Regions from separate parts of the Homo sapiens genome. Here region 2 is linked to region 1. Evidence: promoter capture Hi-C in human tissues and cell types (Jung and others, 2019). All regions are on one chromosome and are shown on one strand. Each heading gives the region's core, a stretch centred on a gene start or on the middle of the fragment in contact. The rest is flanking DNA. Distances are from core to core; before and after follow the strand shown.

What was found. Contacts are between HindIII fragments. The study calls those that stand out against the background at their distance.
Region 2: a contact is called between a fragment that was not itself captured here and the fragment with the promoter of HSF2BP in region 1, in 1 of the 25 tissues and cell types used here (IMR-90 fibroblasts).

Annotation. Positions count from the first base shown.
Region 1 is chr21:43,657,934-43,664,003 of GRCh38, forward strand. It overlaps HSF2BP (heat shock transcription factor 2 binding protein), which reads right to left and starts at 1,555. Exons shown (of 9, transcript NM_007031.2): 1 at 1,453-1,555; 2 at 128-387. The coding sequence starts at 163. It overlaps RRP1B (ribosomal RNA processing 1B), which reads left to right and starts at 1,627. Exons shown (of 16, transcript NM_015056.3): 1 at 1,627-1,861. The coding sequence starts at 1,732. RefSeq lists a silencer at 1,660-1,849 and enhancers at 2,570-2,619, 5,369-5,428. The HindIII fragment of the contact is 9,655 bases long and covers 1-5,806 here.
Region 2 is chr21:43,358,989-43,365,056 of GRCh38, forward strand. LINC01679 (long intergenic non-protein coding RNA 1679) reads right to left here and starts at 3,361. Exons shown (of 2, transcript NR_131902.1): 1 at 1,904-3,361; 2 at 1-498. RefSeq lists enhancers at 723-1,280, 1,281-1,837, 2,621-2,770, 4,617-5,156, 5,710-6,068 and a silencer at 3,451-3,600. The HindIII fragment of the contact is 6,310 bases long and covers 1-4,623 here.

The DNA.
Region 1 (6,070 bases), core at 305-2,804:
GGAAGTCTCCAGGCTTCCCCCAAGCACGCGACAGCGAGCCGTCTCCGAGCGCACGGGGCGAGGCCCTGAGGGGAGCGAATGGCGACGGTTCAAACACGCTGGCGTCGGCCAGGGCTTCCTCACTAACCCGGCAGGCCTCCTCAGCGGCGCCCGCTTCGCCCATGGCCGCTGCCGCCTCCGCTCCGTTCGCCTGAGCGTCGGCGCGCCCTCTGACCCCTCACGCCAGAAAGCGCGGGAACGAATCCACGCCGGGGGTCGGGAACGGAGAGCCGCCAGGCCCAAACCTCCCAGAATTTGCGCAGTATTCTCGGCCTAGAGAGCGAGGAGTGGCCTTGGCGAGGTCCCTCTTTGGCTCTTCTGGCTTAGCCGGGGTTTTAAACTTGTTATCTGCAAAGCAGAAGGAAAGTCAGCCCCTGATGTAAGTGTCAAGTAAAATAAATCGGATGGGTCCTTTCCTGTTTGGCGAGGAATGCTACACTAAGGGGGACTGCGTTCAAATGGGCAGTCTTTGCTGGAAACCTCGCCTCCGCGCGCCTTCCCTCGCTCGGATTCAGGCGCTTTTACGTTAAGGGTTGAATTTTTGTGTCAACAGGCACCTCGGGAGGTCGCCTAGACAACTGAGCGGAGCAACTGAGATAACCCCCGCTACGTGTGGAGTGACCTAGTCCATTAACTTGCCCCAGCACGCCCGCTGAGTCCGCAAAATATAGGATGGCCTCGGGTTTTAGATGAACCCAAAGCTAAGATTTCTTCCCTCTCTGGAATTAGCAAGCAGCCCGCCCTGCCCAACTCCCCTGGAAGCGCGCGTGCTCGCCAGGCCTCGGGACGCCTGCGCGGGCGCCCTTGCACTGGCACCAGGGCTCCGGGGTAGGGGCGCACCGATCTGCCCAAGCCTCTGCAGGCACTGGAGGAAGGCGAGCCCTCCACCCGCTCAACAGGCCCCAGTGCCGGCCTTTCCTTCCAGTCTCAACTCCACCCGGGGGCCCGGGGGCTCCACAGTTAAAAACTCCACGCCACGGAGATCGCAGGTAAGCTGCTGGCTCAACGAGGTGTGCTAAATGGGATTAAAGATCCTGGACCGTGGCCAGGCGCGGCGGCTCAAGCCTGTAATCCCAGCGATCAGGGAGGCCGCCGCGGGAGGATTGCTTGAGCCCAGGAGTTTGAGACCAGCTTGGGCAACATAGCGAGACACCGTCTCTACAAAAAAATAACAAATAGTGGGGCGTGATGGCGCGCGCCTGTAGTCTCAGCTACTTGGGCGGTCGAGATGGGAGGATCGATCGAGTCTGGGAGGTCGAGGCTGCAGTGAGCCAGGATCACCGCCAAGATCGCGCCACTGCATTCCAGCCTGGGCGACAGAGGGAGACCCTGTCTCAAAAACAAACAAAAAATCCTAGACCGTTTACAAACAGCCTTCCGTCTCTTCCTGGTCAAGTCCTAACCCTGGCTAACCTCGCCGTCTACAGCCTGAATTTTGGCAACCGAAAGGCAGCGCCGGCGCCACGTGCACACGGGCTGGGCCGCTCCGCCAGCTGCCAGGGCCACTGCCGCGCTCACTCCCAGAGCGCGCTGCGAGCCGCGGCGCCTTTGTGACGCCATCAGCCCGCGCGCCGCCGCCGCCGCCTTCTGTGCAGTCGCGGCCCGGGCGGACGGTGGCTGGCTGCTCCGCAGCGCTCGGCTGGCTGCAGCGGCACCGCGGGTTGCGCGGCCGGGGATGCTCCAGCGGGCGCGATGGCCCCCGCCATGCAGCCGGCCGAGATCCAATTTGCCCAGCGGCTGGCGTCCAGCGAGAAGGGCATCCGGGACCGAGCGGTGAAGAAGCTGCGCCAGTACATCAGCGTGAAGACGCAGAGGGAGACAGGTGGGCGCACGGCCGCGGTCAGCCGCGCCACATGGCGGGCCGGGGGCCGGGGCTGGGGCTAGGGCCAGGGCCCCGGCACGGAATGCGGCTTCCACGTGTTGTCGTGACACCCAGCGTGTGCTTCGGTTTCCGCGCTGCCGGAACCGCTTCTTGCTGTGTCTAGTGCCTTTTTACACTTAAGGAAACGGGTTGAGGGGGTTCCGTTACTTATGAAAGTCACAGTAAGCGGGGAAGCTGAGAAAAGACCCACATGGGTCCGATTCCCCAGCCGGCATCTCGAATCACTGGGCTGCCCTGATTTGCCCTGGTGTCCGGTCGGTGATTGCCGCCTTCCTTTGACCAGCACCTTTACGTGACGGGGCTGCAGGAGAGAAGACAGACAAAATCACTACCCTCGAGGATCTATTAGTAATAAAGCAAGGAGGCAAACAGGCAAATAAAGTAGACCTTGTGTAAGTGTAGTAAAGGAAATGAAAACCAGGTAGCAGGCCGGGCGCGGTGTCTCACGCATGTAATCCCAGCACTCTGGGAAGCCGAGGCGGGCGGATCACCTGAGGTCGGGAGTTCGAGACCAGCCGGACCAACATGGTGAAACCCCGGCTCTACTAAAAATACAGAATTAGCCGGGCATGGTGGCGCATGCCTGTAATCTCAGTACTCGGGAGGCTGAGGCAGGAGAATCGCTTGAACCTGGGAGGCGGAGGTTGCGGTGAGCCGAGATCGCAGCATTGCACTCCGGCCTGGGCAACAAGAGCGAAACTCCGTCTCAAAAAGAAAAGAAAAGAAAAAAGGAAAAAGAAAACCAGATAATAGCAAAAAGGGAAGGAGGTTGCTCTTCTTGATAGGCTGTTCTGGGAAGGCCTCTCTGGGCTGATAATCAGCTCAGATCTGAAGAGAAATGAGCGGAAACCGCCTATGCAGAGGCAGGAAAGAGCTTCACGTGCCCTAGGAGTGGTTTGAAAGACCAATAAGTTGGGGTTGGGGGGGCGAGTGTTATGAGATGAAGTTGGAGATGTAGGCAGTGGCCAGATCACACAGGGCTTTGTAGTTTAGATTTTAACGGCACTGCTGTTGGATGATTTCATTTACCTGATCCAAAAATACTTTCTATAAACTCTTGAGTGAGCCCATACAATATGAACTACAATGTGTAATAGAGGTTTTAAGATAAAGTTTTATTTAGTTACTGATGGTACTAATACATTTAGAATCTGCTTAAAAGAACAGATATTATCTCCCCCATCACTGACATTCTCAGTTTGTTTTATTTTTAAGAGAAATCACCAGACTACCCAAAAAAAGAAAATACACTTTCCTGGGAAGTCTGATAGAAAAAGGAATAAAGACCAAAATTCCTGACTTTGATTCTGTTAAGAATCTCCCCAAGAGATTTTGTTTAGTCTCACAGTTCCAGGTACCCCATATATGCTGGTGGTTTCTAAACCTAAATTGTTGTCCCAGCCCATTCCTACTTGCAGCTCGGATGTGCCTTGCTAGCCTGGCTTCTCTACCTGGCACCTCACACTCAGGATGCCAAAAAAAGTTCTGTTTTCTTTCCCCGAAATCCTGTTCTCTGCTGCTGCTCCACTGCCACCTGTTTTCTTTTCTTTTGGTTGCTGGTTCCCACCAGCCATTCAGATTCCAGCCGGACACACGGGATTGTCCTGGACTCCTCTGAATTCCTCATCCTCTTCCCCTGGCCCACATCCAGTGGGAGGACCCCCGTCCTCCCTCGTTCACCTCCTGATGACATAAATTCTTGACCGTGGGCTCTTTGTATCTCACCGAAACTTCTGCGCCCGCATATTCCCCAACTGGTCTCCTTAACTTCACTTGTGTCCCCAGGAATCTGTCCTCCACAGACCAGCCCAGGGTCATCTTCCTAAAACAAATCTGATCCCACATCACCAATATTTTTTGAAATTCAGTGTCTGCAAGTCATGATCTGTCCTCAGGTGCTCTTCCTGCCTAAGCCCCGTGTAACTGCTTCATGTTCCGTCAACAGAATCGGTGATGGTTCTTGGTGTACAGCACACAATTTCTCACCTCTCTGCCTTTGCTTCTCCTGTTCACTCTGCAAAGAATCCCACACCTTCTTCACTGCCAGCATTCAGTTCAGTATCACTTCCTTCAAAAAGCCTCGCCTAGCATCTTGCCCTACTCCTCCAGGGTTCTAAAACATCCATTGTGTCTCTGTTGTAGCACTTAGCTACATTGCTTCTTAATTATCAATGTGTCATCCTTCTCCCGAAACACCGTAAGCTTCCATCTGTTTTCTTAGCCAGAAGTGGGAGTACATGCAACCGTAAAAGGTCTTGGCCTGTACAAGAGTGGAAGACCAGAGGCAATACTTACGGTGCTAAGACAGCCTAGACAGAGCCTTTTGCTCAAACCCTTTGGTGAGCCAGCCCAGGATTTGCAAATGCAGAGGTTATGCGGGGGCCTAAGACCAGTTTACACCAGTGCTCCAGAGTCCTGTCTGGTTAGTGCCTATCACACCCAGAGTGACTTGTCTTGTATATCTTGTTCACCACCACATTGCATGGAGTACAGTGGACCTTCAGAAAATAACTCCGCAGCATGAACGTCGTGGACAGTGATAATGGGACAAGAAAACACAAGGTCTCCACCACAGCTATGCCCCATCACAATTACAGCACAAGTTTGGAAATAACTTGGCCTGACATTCGACTCCCGATGACAGGCTCCAACTTTTCTGCATCTTGTCTTAGGCATCATAAAGGAAATGTGAGCTATCACTCTTCCTGAAACATGAGCTGTTCTGCAGCAACATCAATAGATAGCTTTGTCATTTTAAAAATAAATTGGAAATCTTTGTATTGCTTTAAGTAACAGTGTTGCGCTCTTGCTTTAACTGTTCAAGTTGGGTGCTCACAGTCATAAAATGATCACTCTCCATGGCTTTCATCCATAAGAGCTTATTTGTCCCAATTCATTCATTCATTCATATATTTAGCAAACATTTATGGAGTGCCAACTGTGTACTATTATGTACGCTATTCTTGGCACTGGGAATATAGCAGTGAACAAAACAGACCATCCCTGCCTATCTTATCAGTTCTGCAACTTTAAAAATATTGACTAAAATGGGGAGGCATCCCAAAATCAACCCAGTGACAATTTCATTTGTATCATTGCTTTCTTTTTGGCAGCATACAAAATAACAGTACATCTTATGGTTGATGCTATATTAGATTCAGTGTAGATGATGGAGGATATAAGTTTTTTTATAATGATGGGGTTAGGGTTCTCTCTATCCAAGAGTTATAATAAATAGAAGTTGTGGATGTTCTGACACTGGGGTGTGTTCAAGTTTAACACTTTACCCCCATCTAAAATGGCTTCTGGGCTCATTGCGTGGTGAGAGTGGCTGTTGGATTTGCTCATTTCAAAACTTACTAATATTTCACATGTCTACATGTCTCACTTTGATGTTTACCTCGTTTGTTTTGTGTGTTTTTGTTTTTTGAGACAGAGTTTCACTCTTTCACCCAGGCTGAAGTGCAACAGCGCGATCTCTGCTAACTGCAACCTCCACCTTCCAGTTTCAAGCAATTCTCCCGCCTCACCCTCCCGAGTAGCGAGCGCCCACCACCACGCCTGGCTAATTTTTGTGTTTTTAGTAGAGACGGTGTTTCACCATGTTGGCCAGGCTGGTCTTGAGCTCCTGACCTCATGATCCGCCCGCCTAGGCCTCTCAAAGTGCTGGGATTACAGGTGTGAGCCACACCGTGCCCAGCCTTTGTTTTTGTTTTTTTGAGAGACAGAGACTTGCTCTGTCGCCCAGGCTGGAGTGCAGTGGCACAATCTCGGCTCACTGCAACCTCCACCTCCCAGGTTCAAGCGATTATCCTGCCTCAGCTTCCCAAGTAGCTGGGACTACAGGCATGCACCACCATGCCCAGCTAATTTTTGTATTTTTTTAGTAGAGACAGGGTTTCACTCTATGATGGCCAGGCTGGTCTTGAACTCCTGACCTCAGGTGATCTGCCCACCTCGGTCTCCCAAAGTGCTGGGATTACAGAAGTGAGCCACTGTACCTGGCCTACCTCATTCATTTTGAAATAAATAAACCTATATTGTATTGTTGTAAAAACAGTAGTATTAAGTTTAAGAAATTTAGCCCCAAGAAGAAAATAGAGAAGACAAGACTGATGAAACCAAACTGCTTCAGATAATGTACTTTGC
Region 2 (6,068 bases), core at 219-2,718, 300 kb before region 1:
TGGGTGATGAGTCCTGGGGAGAGGGATGGGAGTGGAGACCCTAACAGCACCTGCCCCTCCGCATTGGACGCTCAGCCAGCAAGATCAATGCAGAACTCACGGAACAGCCAACCACCAATCACCGATCAGCCAACACCCTGGCAGAATTATCTCAGCATCTGGATGTTGGCACCACAGGGACCTCAGGCTGCAGAGAACAGGCTGGCCTATGAACGGAGACGGTGCCTGAGCTCGTGGCTGCAGAGGACAGGCCAGCCTGCGAGTGGAGACGGCACCCGAGCTCGCGGCAATGTTGCGGGGAAGCCAAGACCAACCCCTGCCCGTGCCCGGTTTCCCCGAGGCCCCGTGTCCTCAGAGCGCGTCTCGTGGTTCCGGGCTCACTGGCTTCTAAGTCTTCTCCTTCTGTCCTTCTGTCTCAGTCTCAGCCTTCACTCTTCCTTCTCTCAGGGAGAAAAATAAACCTCTGTGGCTGGCGTTTGCAAAAGGGAGAGACTCTTCCTGAGGAAATAAAATAGATTTCAGTCAATGAATATGCAAACTTGAGGCAGGCCAACACCCAGGAGTCAGGGCTGGGAGACATTGGAGCCCAGCAGCCCCCTGGCCCGACGCCCACACAAAGCCCATTTCAGCCAAAGGTATCAGGTTGTTCACTGTGTAAACACACACCACACACACACACACACACACGATAAGCAACCATTTTGGGGGGCAAGTACTGAAACTCAAAACTTGTTAGCTTTCAAGACCTGAATTCAGCTGCAAGAGGCTTATCCTGGCTTTTACATTGCAGCATGGTTTTTAATTTTATTTTCTACATTTTTTTAAAATCAGGCAGCCTCCAGAATCACAGAAGATTCAGAGAAACTCCCAACAGCATGGTATTTTAAAGCAGGAAACAGGTCTTGGCACTTTTTTGACACCATGGAGTCCTGAGTGGGTGGTGGCCATCACGCTGGGTGCAGACCCGAGAGCAGAACCTGGGGTCTGCAGAGAACCTGAGCCGGCACCCAGAGTGGCGGGGGAGGCCGTGCCAGGAGAGCCAGCCTTCCATAGAGCTTGGAGAGGCTGGTGTCACAGGGGAAATGAAAACAGGACTTCAAAGAGGGAGCGGGCAGAAGCCCCTGCAGGGGATTTTCTGGTTCCTAACCTGGAACAGGCACCGGTTCTGAGGCACACAGCACGCAGCCTCTGCCTTCACCATGTGCTGTCCACACGTCCCGAGCCCCTGGCTGCCCAAAAGAGAGTCACCTGCCCGGCTAAACCCACACCCCAACCCTCCCTGTCACTGGCTGCTGCTGGGGGTCCATTCACCTCAACCCCATGCTTAGCAGTGACCACCCTGGGCTCTTGTAATGGATCCTCATGTCAGCCACTGTGTGAGAACCTTTCCCCGCAGTGTTATCCCAGTCACATGAATCAGGCTCTGAGTGAACGCGTGTATTCCTTGGGTGCCTACTTAGAGCAGAAGGAAAGCAAAGATGCTCACCGGGTAGCCAGGAGCGCCGCTTCCCTGCCCATGCGCCATGGTGTGTGTGTGTGAGCTCAGGGCACGCGGGCACACACGTGTCCGTGGTTCCCACAGGAGGAGCAGGGCCCTCCTGAAACCCAAGAGCCACATCCCCAGGAGCCTCGGGCAGATGAGCGGGAGGTACCTGGGAGCTGGAGACAGGGCCGCCCCTCGCGAGGACGGGCTTTTCCGCCTCACTTCTGCCTTAGCGGCATTGATACCACGCGCATTCACCTCTCCGTGCCTCGGTTTTCTCACCCATAAAGTGGGGGCTCGCTCTGCCTGCCCAGTTGCTGTCAGATTGGGCCAGGCCTGTACAAGCCCACATGGGGACCCCTGGGTGACTGCGCTCTCCCACCTCCCCTCCCACCCTTCCCGCTGCGGGACTCCACACACCAGGCCCACCGTCACCCCCTGCTCTCAGTCTCCAGGCACAGCCAGGTGTGGGCGGTGCATGGCGGGCCCAGCGGTCAACCGCGGCAAAGGTGGTTCCCAGGTCCCTGTGTAGCGGGGGTCCCGTAGCCCCATTGACTGCAGGTCTTGGCTGGGCCAAGGCCATAGAGCAGCATGGCCAGCACTCCTGTTCCATCCTCTGCATCTCTGCTTCAATTGCAAACAACAGCCACAGTTCACATCTGGATCTGTGTGGTGCCCTTCAGTTTAAAACCCCTGCCCAGAGGCCATCTCCTTTGAAACTTCCCAGGCAGGTGTCAAAACGATCCTCCCTCCACATGTCACAGAAATGCAGCAGCAAGAAGCCCGAGGCCTCCAGGAGGAGCTGCGGGCTGGCCCCACCCACAAGCAGCTGCGGGCTCACAGTCACGGTCCTCTGAGGACAGGCTTGTGCTTCCCACTCCCCGGTGAGCGGGCACCACGGATGTCAGTGCCGTGACTGGCCTTTGTGCTTTGGATAAACTCCATGTGGAATGGAAGGAAAGATGGGAGCATTCTAGAACCTGAGCATTTTGTAGCAAGAGCACTGTTCTCACCGCTGATTTCCAATGTCCAGGGCAGAAAGATGAAGAGATATCGTTTTCCCTTAAATGGGAGTGAAGGACAGAGGCAGCGTGGTGGCCGGTGATGGACAGACCCGTGTCTGCTGGCAGGACACCCCGGCCGCCTCCGTCTCATGGATAGAGCAAGCAGTTTTCTCTATGACGTGGCTTCTTTAGGAGGCAGCTCGGCTGCCCAGATCCCTCCTTATTTTTTAGTTCTCAAGCCCTGTAGGGTGTTTTCGGTCGCAGTTGTTTGGGCTGTGGTCCTGACCCTCCTGAGTTCCAGTGGCTCTGTTCAGGAGAGCTGCCTGGGGCCGGGACTTCTGAAACACACACTGAGCCACAGGCCGGCCCGGCGGCTTGGGTTCACCGCCGCCTCTTTGTGTGTGATGTCCTGGGATAGGCCCGTGCACGTTCAGATGACACTGTACATATAAATAACTTGTAGCCGAGAACAGGATGGGGCGGGGAGGAGGGGAGGGCAGAACGTACCACAGCAGCAGAAGTCACTGTGGATGCCTTCGTAAGTTGCATGGAAGGTTTTTAAACCTAGCCCTGCCGAGCAGCCCTCTCCTGGTCCGGGAGAACGATGGGGAGAGAGCTGGCGTTCAGCTTTCATCACTGGAGCCGTTCCTTCTTCCGGCCCCCCGAGGGCCTGTCCATGATCACACTTTGTCTTGTTTCGGGGGTGGCCCCTGTGACCCCTTAGAGGTGCAAATCCAAGGCAGTAGAAGCCGCCTGCCAGGCCAGTGCCCGCCACTGCTTAATTCAGGCGGAATCACGGCTCAGAGGGTTCCCTCCACTTTCCAAGGGAAACATGTCCACGGGGTATCTCTTCCTGCGTATTTTCTCACGACCCTTCCTTACATCCAAGGCCACGTCTCTCGACACGTTGTCCCCCCTCTGCCGTCACACATGGCGTAATCCGCGCCCCCCCTACCCCCCACATCAGCTGCTCAGCGAGCCGCACTCACAGTCACAGGCCCCGCCGGCGGCAACCCCACCTCCTCCCGCCCAGGCAGGAAACGCTCAGCAGCACCATCTGCTTGGCTCCTCAGCCAGCCGCGCTCCGGGAGCCCTGGGGGCGAGGCGGCCGTGGCGTCCTCCACGTCTGTGTCTCCCCGCACGTCAGCCGCCCCACGCTGTCTCTGGAAGCTTCCGGAGTACCCAGGCCTTCTGCACTCCACGCACTGCATGTGCGCCTGAGCCGCTGTCTCGATTTTACAAAACGGAATCTAGCAGTCCATGCACTCAGGGAGGCGGCTGGCAGGATTTTCTGGCAAACTAAGGGTGTTCTTTCCTGGCCAAAGGAAAAGTCTTTTGGAAAATGAATAATCTCTTCCTAATTTGCTTGACTAGGAAGATGGGTTTTTGCACAGTGGGTTTGTTGAAGGGAGGCAGCTCTTGAAATTTTGTTCATAATCCGACATGACAAGGGTGACCGTATAATCTACCGACCCATCTGAGCCCCTTGAGAAGAAAGGAGAAGGTTGTTAATACACGCACTGGGACCACAGGCATCACTGGGCCTGTCCTGGGCAAACTGATTTATGATGGCCGCCGTTGACCTTCGCTGTGGTCAGCCTAAGTGACCTCAGCGTGCACCTGCCATGATTTCCTGGAATCACTCTCTGGGTTCCAGGCTTCTAGGCCTGTGGTTTTGGGGCTGGTTTCTCTGAATTCTCAGATCCTGGTCAGAAGTTTGTGGGCAGATTGGTGTCTGATGAATGAGGGCCGCTCATTCAAGAAACCAGCGTAGCAAATGGGAGGTGGTGCAGGGTCTCTCTGCGAAGCGCTCAAGCCCACTTCCCTGCCCCCACGTGTCCTGATTTTACTTTGAAATTTCCAGTGGATGCAATAGTGCCGACCATGTGCACATGGGGTCAGGATCTCAGGCCCGCCAGCTGGACTACAGCAAGTACCCATGGTCTCAGGGAAAAGGTCCCCTGCTGCAGGCTGTGGGGGACCTCGGCTCTCACAGTGGCTATGCCTGAGAAAGCCCCTCCAGACTCGCCAACCTGGCCCGCGCGTCCTGTCCGGAGGGCAGGGTGGGGCTGGTGCTGGTTACAGATGATCCTCAAGGGCACAGCACGCAAGCCACCAGGCGCCCCTCCTGCAGCTGGGTCAGAGAGAGGCACTGGGAGCCTGGCTCCCTCCAGGTCAGTCTCCACCAGGGCCACCCCGGTGACCTGCAGGAGAGGAAGGCAGACGAGGAGTGGCCCTGCCCCTTAGGGCGCATCGTGCAGGTGGCACAAGGGGGTCATCTGCATCCTGGTCAAGGGGGAGCCCACCTGCCTCCTCCAGGTCGGGAACACTCCCTGGAGGCCATGGTGTGGAGCGTCCACCCGGGCTTCGTCCTCCAGCTCAGCTGCTGGGCCCTGGGAAGGGACAGGCCCAGCACCCGTTCAGCCGGGCTGAGCCGCAGGCAGAGCGCCTTGCCTGGGAGAGACAAACCCACCGCTGAGGACACACCCTCAAGGTTCACCCTTCCCCACTTCTGTGTTGCCCTTAGCTCTAAGGTGCTAATTCCATCTCTAGTTTCAACAGGCTGATTGCTCTTAAGGGAAAATGGGGTTGCACAATCCGGCTGTGGTGGCCGGGGCTCTTGGTCTCCCCCCAGTAAGAGGATGGACTTTCCAGCCCTGCTGATGGTCAGCGGGGACCACGTGGAGGCTTTGGCAGATGAAATGGGGCACATGACATAGCCCTGCCCCAGTGGAAGCCTCAGAGCCATGGCTGGGCTCCACCAGGCTTGCTCCAGCGGCCATGAGGACCATGCCCCACAGGCAGGGGCTGCACCTCCACCCTGGTTCCAGAAGGAAGAGGCACAGCCGACATGCCGCTCGAGCAGGAAACCCTGGGGAAGGTGGGACATGAGATCCTGTGTCTGATACTACAGTGTAACCGGCTAGAAACTGACTCAAAGGGGCATTTTTACAGCAGAAAGAGGCGAAGCACACGTGCATCTGCCATCCTGTGATTGTCAGGCCCCGTTTAGGAGTGGACAGCTCCATGGTTGTGTTTGAGCCCCACACCGGCCCTGGGGGGTTATACTGCCCTGGAGGACAGCTGACCTCAGTTCTCCAAGCTTCCATTCCCCCTTGTATGGGCACAGCACCCCAACCTTCTTTTGGCAGCTCCCACGCCCCCCAGTGCTGGTGGGCTCTAGGGCTCTGGTCCCTGATGCTCAGAGGCACAGAGACAGCATTCCTCAGGGGCCCTGATCCTCTGGCCCGGTTCAGACTGTGGTGGGGCCTCGGGACCTTTCCAGAACCTTGGAAGTGGGTAGCACCCTTTGCTGGGACAGACATGCCTGGAGCTCCGGGCATTGGGCCACTGCTGGGATAAGCCCACGACAGAATGAAGCCGGGCAGGCAGAAAGAGCTGCGGGCTCCCTGGCCACTCCTGTTTCCGTAAAGGGCCTGGTGTCTCATTTCCTACTTACCTTGGACTTTAAGGGCCTCCTGCAGCCTTTGTCACACACTCTTCTTATTTTTTTGTCCATTACAACCTTTTACGGCGGCACAAGCCATTGTTCTCAGGGCCAACGCGTGAGTCCTGTGGTG